3 separate regions of the Homo sapiens genome follow, and regions 2 and 3 are each linked to region 1. The links are contacts of gene promoters, found by promoter capture Hi-C in blood cells and fetal thymus (Javierre and others, 2016). All regions are on one chromosome and are shown on one strand. The core of a region is centred on a gene start or on the middle of the fragment in contact, and the rest is flanking DNA. Distances in the headings are between cores, read along the strand shown. Region 1 holds the start of DDX23 (DEAD-box helicase 23). Region 2 holds the start of SCAT2 (S-phase cancer associated transcript 2). Region 3 holds the start of CDK4 (cyclin dependent kinase 4).

The links. Contacts are between HindIII fragments. The CHiCAGO score rates a contact against its expected background, and 5 or more counts as called.
Region 2: the fragment with the promoter of SCAT2 here is called in contact with the fragment with the promoter of DDX23 in region 1 in 1 of 17 cell types (neutrophils); the score reaches 5.7 in neutrophils.
Region 3: a contact is called between the fragment with the promoter of CDK4 here and the fragment with the promoter of DDX23 in region 1, in 1 of 17 cell types (monocytes). The highest score is 7.6, in monocytes.

Annotation. Positions count from the first base shown.
Region 1 is chr12:48,850,750-48,853,652 of GRCh38, forward strand. DDX23 (DEAD-box helicase 23) reads right to left here and starts at 1,414. Exons shown (of 17, transcript NM_004818.3): 1 at 1,335-1,414. LOC105369755 (a long non-coding RNA gene) reads left to right here and starts at 972. Exons shown (of 2, transcript XR_944925.3): 1 at 972-1,065; 2 at 1,301-1,800. RefSeq lists enhancers at 1,270-1,459, 2,339-2,548. The HindIII fragment of the contact is 5,632 bases long and covers 1-2,903 here.
Region 2 is chr12:54,261,107-54,263,899 of GRCh38, forward strand. It overlaps SCAT2 (S-phase cancer associated transcript 2), which reads left to right and starts at 1,509. Exons shown (of 2, transcript NR_157844.1): 1 at 1,509-1,831. The region is part of intron 1 of CBX5 (chromobox 5); the gene reads right to left. The HindIII fragment of the contact is 3,994 bases long and covers 1-2,793 here.
Region 3 is chr12:57,751,060-57,753,980 of GRCh38, forward strand. It overlaps CDK4 (cyclin dependent kinase 4), which reads right to left and starts at 1,251. Exons shown (of 8, transcript NM_000075.4): 1 at 1,116-1,251; 2 at 441-677; 3 at 148-283; 4 at 1-31. The coding sequence starts at 658. RefSeq lists silencers at 401-540, 1,271-1,350, 1,581-1,700 and an enhancer at 877-1,610. The HindIII fragment of the contact is 8,675 bases long and covers 1-2,921 here.

The DNA.
Region 1 (2,903 bases), core at 164-2,663:
ACTGTGTCAAGTACCACCGAAGTGGAGAGGGAATAAGGGACAGGGAAGTAACCACTGAATTTGGAAAAATGGAGATTATTGGTGACCTTGACAAGAGCTGTTTCAGTTGCATTGCGGGAATGGAAGCCTGAGTGGAATGAGTTTGGAAGAGAATGAAAAATGAGAAGAAGACAGTAAATACAGGCAACTTTTATTACAGGTTCTATTATCACAAGGGCCAAATAACCAGGCTGACTCTGGCCATGCTTCCCAGCAGCCTTCCTCTCAAACCTCCAGATCTTCAGGTCCTCAGTTCTTGCAGGGCAGGGGCACATTCTTTTTTTTCACTCAATGACGTATTTAACAAGCATCTACTGTACGCAAGGCACAGTGCTAGGTGCTATGTGAGTTACAAAAATAAATTCTGTTCACAGGAAGTGTTTAGAACAACAGGGTTATGAGGTCGGACGCGGTGGCTCACGCATGTAATCCTAACACTTTAAGAGGCCGAGACAGGTGGATTGCCTGAGCTCAGGAGTTCGAGACCAGCCTGGGGAACACGGTGAAACCCCGTCTCTACTAAAAATACAAAAAATTAGCCGGGCGTGGCGGCGTGCGCCTGTAATCACAGCTACTCGGGAGGCTGAGACAGGAGAATCGCTTGAACCCGGGAGGCGGAGGTTGCAGAGAACCAAGATCGTGCCATTGCACTCCAGCCTAGGCGACAGAGCGAGACTCCGTCTCAAAAAAAAAAAGAAAAGAAAAGAAAAAAAAGAACAATAGGGGGTATGAGACACATACCAAGAAGAGTATCAAGGCTCAGATGTAGTAATACAGGTGTTCAAAGGCGTTTCCTTTCACTTGTAAAAGGTGATGTGGAAGGCTTGGAAGAGGAAGTGACGCTTGAGCTTTTAAGTATAAGTAGAATTTTAAGATATGTAATTAAGGACGCGGAAAAGAAGTCATTCCCGGCAAAAGAAATAATACGGCCGGCGCAGAGGCGGGAAAACATGGACTGACTGCGAGAGAAAAGCCAGAGTTCCAGTTTGGCTGCACCAAAGGCTACTTTAAGCATGAAAGAATAAGGTCAGACTGGGGGTATCAGAGGCGCTGTGCCCATAGGCAGAGTCCTGGGAGGAAAATATCGTGCAGGGACGTGGCCTGTGCCCGGAGGAGCCAACACTACCCCTGGGGCCCGCGCCCCTTCACTCCAGCCCGCCCGAGCTTCCCGGGTTCATGCCCCTTCTCTGAGGCGTTCTTTCCCGCCTCATCCAGGAGGCAGGGGCCACCGCCGTGCCCTGACTCTAGCCCTTTCTGTAAGCTCGTGGGAACCGCCTCCACCGCCCGGGACTCACCACCCTGAGTCTGAACCGCCCAACGCGGCCTCAACGTCGCGGAGCCGTCGCCATCTTTCCCGTTTCCTGGTCGCGGAGATGAACACCCCCCACCCCCCCGGCCGCGAGGCAAGCTGGGAAGGCGAGTTCCTGGAGCTGGGCGGCACAGGCCGACACTGAGGCCTGGAAACTACCAATCCCAGAATGCATGACTTGAGCGCCGGCCCCAGGCTGCGGGGTCTGCCGGGCAATGTGGTTTGCCAGACGTTAGCGTCCGGGAAGGAAGAGTTTTTCGCCAATAGGCTTTCGGCATTAGGTTCTCCCGCCGAGCACCCTTCTTGGAATCGGCTGGTCTTCCTAGAAACTACGGTCTATGACTGTCCTTGCCCGTGGCTTACAGTGGAGGAATTTAAGGGCTTCCTGAGATATCTGTAGTACGTAATTATAGCTAACAACCGCAGTAACAATAAATACCATTCGTGGAAAAGCGGTTTTTATAATAATTCTGTGAGAATGGGGCTAGCCCCATTTTACAGTTGGACAAACTAAAGATCAGGTTACCGGAGTAGGTTCACAAGGAGGGTGATGCAGTTCTCCATTGTGTGTGGAACTATCCCAGGCTTAGGAGGACGTTTTAGCAACCTTGGCCCCTGCAGCCGGGTGAATGCCATAACAACCCCCAGTTATTGTTACAGCTCCAAATGAGCCCACACAATGGGCTCTAAAGTCCTCCCGGAAGGATGGTATCTCCTGGGCTCTAGCACCTGTTTTCTCAACATTCCAGATGGAACCCTGGTTTCCTCAATTTCTTGCCCTTTGGAATGTGACCAATTGTTGAGCTATCTTGGTATTTTTGCTTCTTTCTTCCCCCAGATTCCCCTACTTCAGTCTTCCACTGAGTTTTGTTGTTGCTGTTGTTGTTGTTGTTGATGTTGTTGTTGTTGTTTTAACCTCAAATCGTAAGTTCACTTTGTGTTTCTCTTTGGTCTTATGGGTTCATAACTCTTTCCCTCAAAACAAAACAAAACATTGCAGTTGCGGAAACGGTTTAGATAACCAGAAGTATCTCGGACCTCCCTTCCCATTTTGCCAGCAGCAGGTTTGTTGCTTCAATTCCACATGGCTGTAGGTCTGCCTTTTCTCTCTGAATATGCCCAAGCTCTCAAGCAGAGCCTCAGGATAGACCCAAGTAATCCTAAAGCCCTGAGCATCACGTACAATGGCCCAAAGTAACCCTCGGAGACACACACTTCTCTTAGAACCTGCAGCCTTTCACCTCCCAGCTTCTACTCCAGAGAGAACGCAAGGGAAAGAAGAGAGCTCTGAGATCTGTTAGGTGTAATTCACCACAAAAGCACGAGAGGGCGCTCGACTCACAGATTCACAGATTAAACTAAGAATCAGACCAACCATGGTAGGCCAGAATCTTCAAAAACTGCAGCCACTTTTTATTGAGAATCTTCTAAGTGCTCAGCTCTGGGCTGGACACTTAACCTACCTTATTTGTTTTACTTAGTTCTCATAGCAGTATGAGATGAGTGCTATCTCCATTTTACTGGTAAGGAGATTGTGGCCCAGAAAGAGTAATTA
Region 2 (2,793 bases), core at 259-2,758, 5.4 Mb after region 1:
CTTGAACCTGGGAGGCAGAGGTTGCAGTGAGCCGAGACTGCGCCACTGCACTCCAGCCTGAGCAACAAGAGCGAAACCGTCTCAAAAAAAAAAAAAAAAGAACTCAGTTGAGAAGAAGCACAATGGTGACTATTACGACTGTCAAACAGAAGAAACCATAGGGTGTAAGACCAAAGTAGAAATTTTTTTCTTTTTTCTTTTTTTTTTTTGAGACGGAGTCTCGCTCTGTCACCAGGCTAGAGTGCTGTGGCGCCATCTCGGCTTACTGCAACCTCCAACTCCCTGGTTCAAGGGATTCTCCTGCCTCAGCCTCCCAAGTAGCTGGGATTACAGGCATGTGCCACCACGCCCAGCTAATTTTTGTATTTTTAGCAGAGATGGGGTTTCATCATGTTGGCCAGGATGGTCTCGATTTCCTCATCTTGTGATCCGCCCACCTGGGCCTCCCAAAGTGCTGGGATTACAGGCATGAGACACTGCACCCGGCCAGAAATTTTTTAATTACAAAAGATTTCCTCAGATTTGAATGGACCATCAGCAAACCTCCAATTAAAAACGGCATTTTTCAACTCTTACCTTTTAACTTTTCATAATTAAGGGATATAAAAACAATAACAAACATTTAAATAGGATCCTGACTCTGATTAACTTGCCATGTGTTATCCTGAGTAAATAAATTTTCCATCTAACCCCGGCATCATTTAAACGGGCTAAATAAATCTGTACTACCTGCCCTACGTACCTCCGAGGGAAAAAGTGAGTTTATGTTGAAACCAAAGATCTATTAAGTCCCCCAAAAAGAACCTTCTGTAAAAATATGTCAGGGCTGAATACAACAGCAGAAGAAAATATGTGACCTTCCAAATTCCTAAGCTAGTAAACCATATCACATGCAGTAACTCCTGCAGCTCAACACATTAGTAGATAGCAAGAAAAAGAGGAACAGTGTCTTTGTTAACTAGGCACTGGAAAACGAATAAACCTTCAGAGAACAGGGTAGGTACGTTCTCTCTCAAGGGCAAAATACTTATTCCTTAAAACTCAGACAAACTTTAAAGATGGCAGAATGAAAAGACTAATAGTAACTCTGTGAAGGAATAAGGAACAGGAGAGAATGACAGCAATACTAACATTTTGGTGAAACCTTTCAGAGAAAGAAAAGTGAATTTAATGAGGAAAGAGACAAAAATATTCTGGTGTCCACCCCTCCCCACAAAACATCAGAAAATAAAGATTGAGTTCAATTCCCTCCTTTCCACCCTTAAGAACTGCCTAAAGGGCACATGGGCCGAGGTCCTTTTCTTTTTGGGAAATGGGTTTTGTAACCACTGACAAATCGAATTGGGCCTGATGCCAGGAGTCAGAGTACAACCATAATATTCTTTAAAGGATGGCATGCAATTGTCTTGTAAATCTCCTAGACAGTCACAGATCAGAAGCTGGCAAGGATGACGACATAGTTCTGATGGAATGTGTCTTATCTTAACCTTGAAGTTACAGATCTGCTCAGGAGCAGCAGTAAGAAATGAGAAATGCACTCAGACATCGGAGGGGACATAATTCTCTTTTAGACAGTGTGACCCGGAGTATTAGGGTCAAATGAAACACAAAGCCAGTCAAACAATTTAAGGGCTAGAGCCTAGACCAGATAAAGCATCAAGACTGGTGGTTCACACTGAGCTTAGGAGGAGGGAGCTTTCCAGCATGAGAAATGAGACATGGCTGGCAGGATGATGGAGTGATTAAGATAGAATCCCAATACCATGACAGAGGAAAAGAAGATGAGCCTCTGAACACAACCTTATCCTTGTGGAAATCTCCAAGGGAAAGGGTGAGTAGCTTCTCAAATTTCTGGAGTCTTTCAGGCATAACAGCTCTCAGCCTTCTCTCTTAAATATACATAGGAACTATCTGGTAAAGCTACCAATAACTATAGATTACAGCACCTAAGGCCCATTGAGATGAGAAAAGAGGCTGGGCGCGGTGGCTCACGCCTGTAATCCCAGCACTTTGGTAGGCCGAGGCGGGCAGATCTCCTGAGGTCAGGAGTTCCAGACCAACCTGGCCAACATGGTGAAACCCTGTCTCTACTAAAAATACAAAAATTAGCCAGGTGTGGTGGCAGGCACCTGTTATCTCAGCTACTTGGGAGGCTGAGGCAGGAGAATCACTTGAACCCAGAAGATGGAGGTTGCAGTGAGCCGAGATCAAGCCATTGCACTCCAGCCTGGACAACAAGGGCAAAACTCCGTCTCAAAAAAAAACCAAACAAAAAACTTATCAGTCCTCAGCAATTACAGAGAGGGCATCACAAGCAAGCTAGGGCAACCCAGAAAAACAAGAGGTAGGCCGGCACAGCGGCTCTCGCCTGTAATCCCAGCACTTTGGGAAGCCAAGGCAGGTGGATCATGAGGTCAGGAGTTTGAGACCAGCCTGGCCAACATGGTGAAACCCCGTCTCTACTAAAGACACAAAAAAATTAGTCAGGCGTGGTGTAATCCCAGCTACTCGGGAGGCTGAGGCAGTTACGCACCTGTAATCCCAGCTACTCAGGAGGGTGAGGCAGGAGAATCGCTTAAACGGGAGGCGGAGGTTGCAGTGAGCTGAGATCGCGCCACTGCACTCCAGCCTGGGCAACAGGGTAAGACTCTATCTCAAAAAAAAAAAAAAAAAAAAAGAAAAGAAAAAAGAAAAAAAAAGGCCAGGCGCAGTGGCTCACGAGGTCAGGAGATTGAGACCATCCTGGCTAACATGGTGAAACCCTGTCTCTACTAAAAATACAAAAAATTAGCC
Region 3 (2,921 bases), core at 1-2,500, 8.9 Mb after region 1:
CTAGGCCTCTTAGAAACTGGCGCATCAGATCCTAGTTTCAAAGGGGAGGTACAGATGCACTGGAAACTAGGCACCATACCTGAAATCCCAGAAGGTTCTACTACAAAGGTCCCAATCCACCTCTCAATGCCTACCAACCCCACTCACCTTGATCGTTTCGGCTGGCAAGCCTGGTGGGGGTGCCTTGTCCAGATATGTCCTTAGGTCCTGGTCTACATGCTCAAACACCAGGGTTACCTTGATCTCCCGGTCAGTTCGGGATGTGGCACAGACGTCCATCAGCCTGACCAGAGTAAATGCTCACTTTTCAATCCCCTTTAACCCAACATGGCCTCTCATTATTTCCTCAGGGTCCCCACTTCTCTACAGATCATCACACCCCACCTATAGGCTGTCTTTTCCCTTTACTCCCCACGCCCAACCCTCCACCACCTTCTCACCGGACAACATTGGGATGCTCAAAAGCCTCCAGTCGCCTCAGTAAAGCCACCTCACGAACTGTGCTGATGGGAAGGCCTCCTCCACCTCCTCCTCCATTGGGGACTCTCACACTCTTGAGGGCCACAAAGTGGCCACTGTGGGGATCACGGGCCTTGTACACTGTCCCATAGGCACCGACACCAATTTCAGCCACTGGCTCATATCGAGAGGTAGCCATTCTCAGATCAAGGGAGACCCTACAATCACAGACTCCTATCACCAAAAGTCGCTTACAGAGTTAGGATGGTATGAGCCTGCAGCAACAAAGGGACTCCCAAAAAAAAAGCGCAAAGAACACCACCAGCATCCCATCCCCCGCTCCCAGTCTTCCTTGGGGCCGGCCCCAGAGATAACACAATGACTCAATACCAACCCCTCCAGCCACGTGAGGCCCTGCAATAGAAAACGCTTTTTCCTTTGGGACAATCGCGCCCCGCACAAAGATCACACATGACACATGCCTTGCATCGAAGATCCTACACCTCAGTCCCTAAAATTATACTTTCCCATGACCACAAAGGCCCCACTTCCCGCCCTTGAGCGACCCTTCCATAACCAGCTCGCGAAACGAACGCGTGGAAAGCTGTGAGGGGGGCGGGCACTGGTTCTCATTCCTGGGAAGGGACTGCACTTACCTCACGCCAGCCCGGGGTGCTGTGGGGGCGGCCCGTTATCGGGGCCCCGGAGCCGGTTCCTACGGCCCCATACACCCGAGCTCGGTCCGGAGCAGCTGGACGCAGAGGGCCCGACCATAGACACAGGCCGCAAGCTAGAGAGGCCCCCTCACCCCCACCCTCACCATGTGACCAGCTGCCAAAGAGGCGCGCGGAAACTGGGAGGGCGGGGCGAACGCCGGACGTTCTGGGCACGTGACCGCCACCCATGCGCTGAGGGGCGGACAGGAGGTGCTTCGACTGGGAGGAGGGCGAAGAGTGTAAGGGGGCGGAGGGGCGATGGCAGCCACGTGATCTGTTGCTATCACACGTGACCGCTTGACATTGCTCTGAGGAGCAGAGGTGTGGCTACGCGGCGGGCACGTGACTGGCTGCCACAACCCCCGCTGCAGGGGGGGAGCGGTGAGGGGGACAAGAGAGGGTGGAGCCCGAGGCGGTGCCATGGCAACCTAGGCCACCCAGAGCCCAACTCCCGGCTGAAGGATTGTCTCACTACCGGTCTGAAGGCTGAACTCCAGTCTCACTACCGGTCTTTCAGCCTGTCTGCATTGGGGAGGGGGTGGGAGTTGGGGTACCAGAGGTGATGCTGTCACCTTTTCGCTCCACCATGAGAAAACATACTCTCATTTGTGTCATTGTTTCATTCATTAATTCTACAACATTTTACTGAGTGCTTGCTTCCAGTGTGTATGTGGGTTTTTATTTTGTTTTTGGTGTCTGTCACTGGCCCTTTAAAGTAGTGGTACGACTATCTATAAAGATGTAGCCAACAATGGGGTCTTCTACAATAGGGAGTAAACAATGCCCATTTGAGGGCAAAACTACGATTAAAGGATGACGGAAGGCAGATTAATACAGTAATCCAACAGGCTCAGTGACAAGGTAATCCTCTCACTTTTCCAACTTCCAAACCTCCCTGGGAGTGTTAATGCAAAGACCTGAGGCCATCTGGCAGAGAAGTTATTGATGAGCAGGAGACAGGAATACTTGACCTTTTAAGTTTTTTTTTTTTTTCCAGTAGGAAGGTTCTATGATTATGTGATATTTGTATGTGTGCATATATGCTTCTATGTATATATGTATGTATATGATATTATTTATCACATCATATATAAGACGGATACAGGATTGCACATGTGCAAGAAAGTTACCACCACACCCCCTGCACCCTCCAGACCACCACAATGAATGAAAATGACATGCCCCCTTCTGCAAACCTTGTGACTACTCATTTGGAGTTATTGTGCTTCCCTCTTTTTCCCTAGTGCCGCTTTCTTAGCACTTAGCACTGTCCAGAACACACTTGTTCCCAAATGGCCTCTGCCCAGACACCTAGGTAGACACAAGTAGATTTCTCCTACTTTGTTTTATTGGCTCCAAGGTCTTTATCTCCCAGCCCTTTGGGGGTATGGGAGTAAAGGAGGAAAGCGGTTAGTGTCTCATTTGTGAGAATTTGTCTAAAATCTAAAGCCATTTTATTACCCTATTTGCCACTCCTTCCACTCTAACTTCTGTTTTCCTTAACCATCTGGCTGAGAATATAAGAGTTCAAACTAGAAGATGAATATAAACCATGACTTAGAGCAAAATAGAATACATATTAATACAGATGCCTCCTCTTTCCATCCTGATACTTGTAGCCCTGGGCCCCTCCTGGCAAGGGCAGCTGGAACACTAGTAAGAAAAACCTCAAGGACTGAACTGACTAAGGGGCTCAAGAGGTGAATGTTTTATTGGCTACCTTGCTAGGGGTGGGTGCTTTGTAAG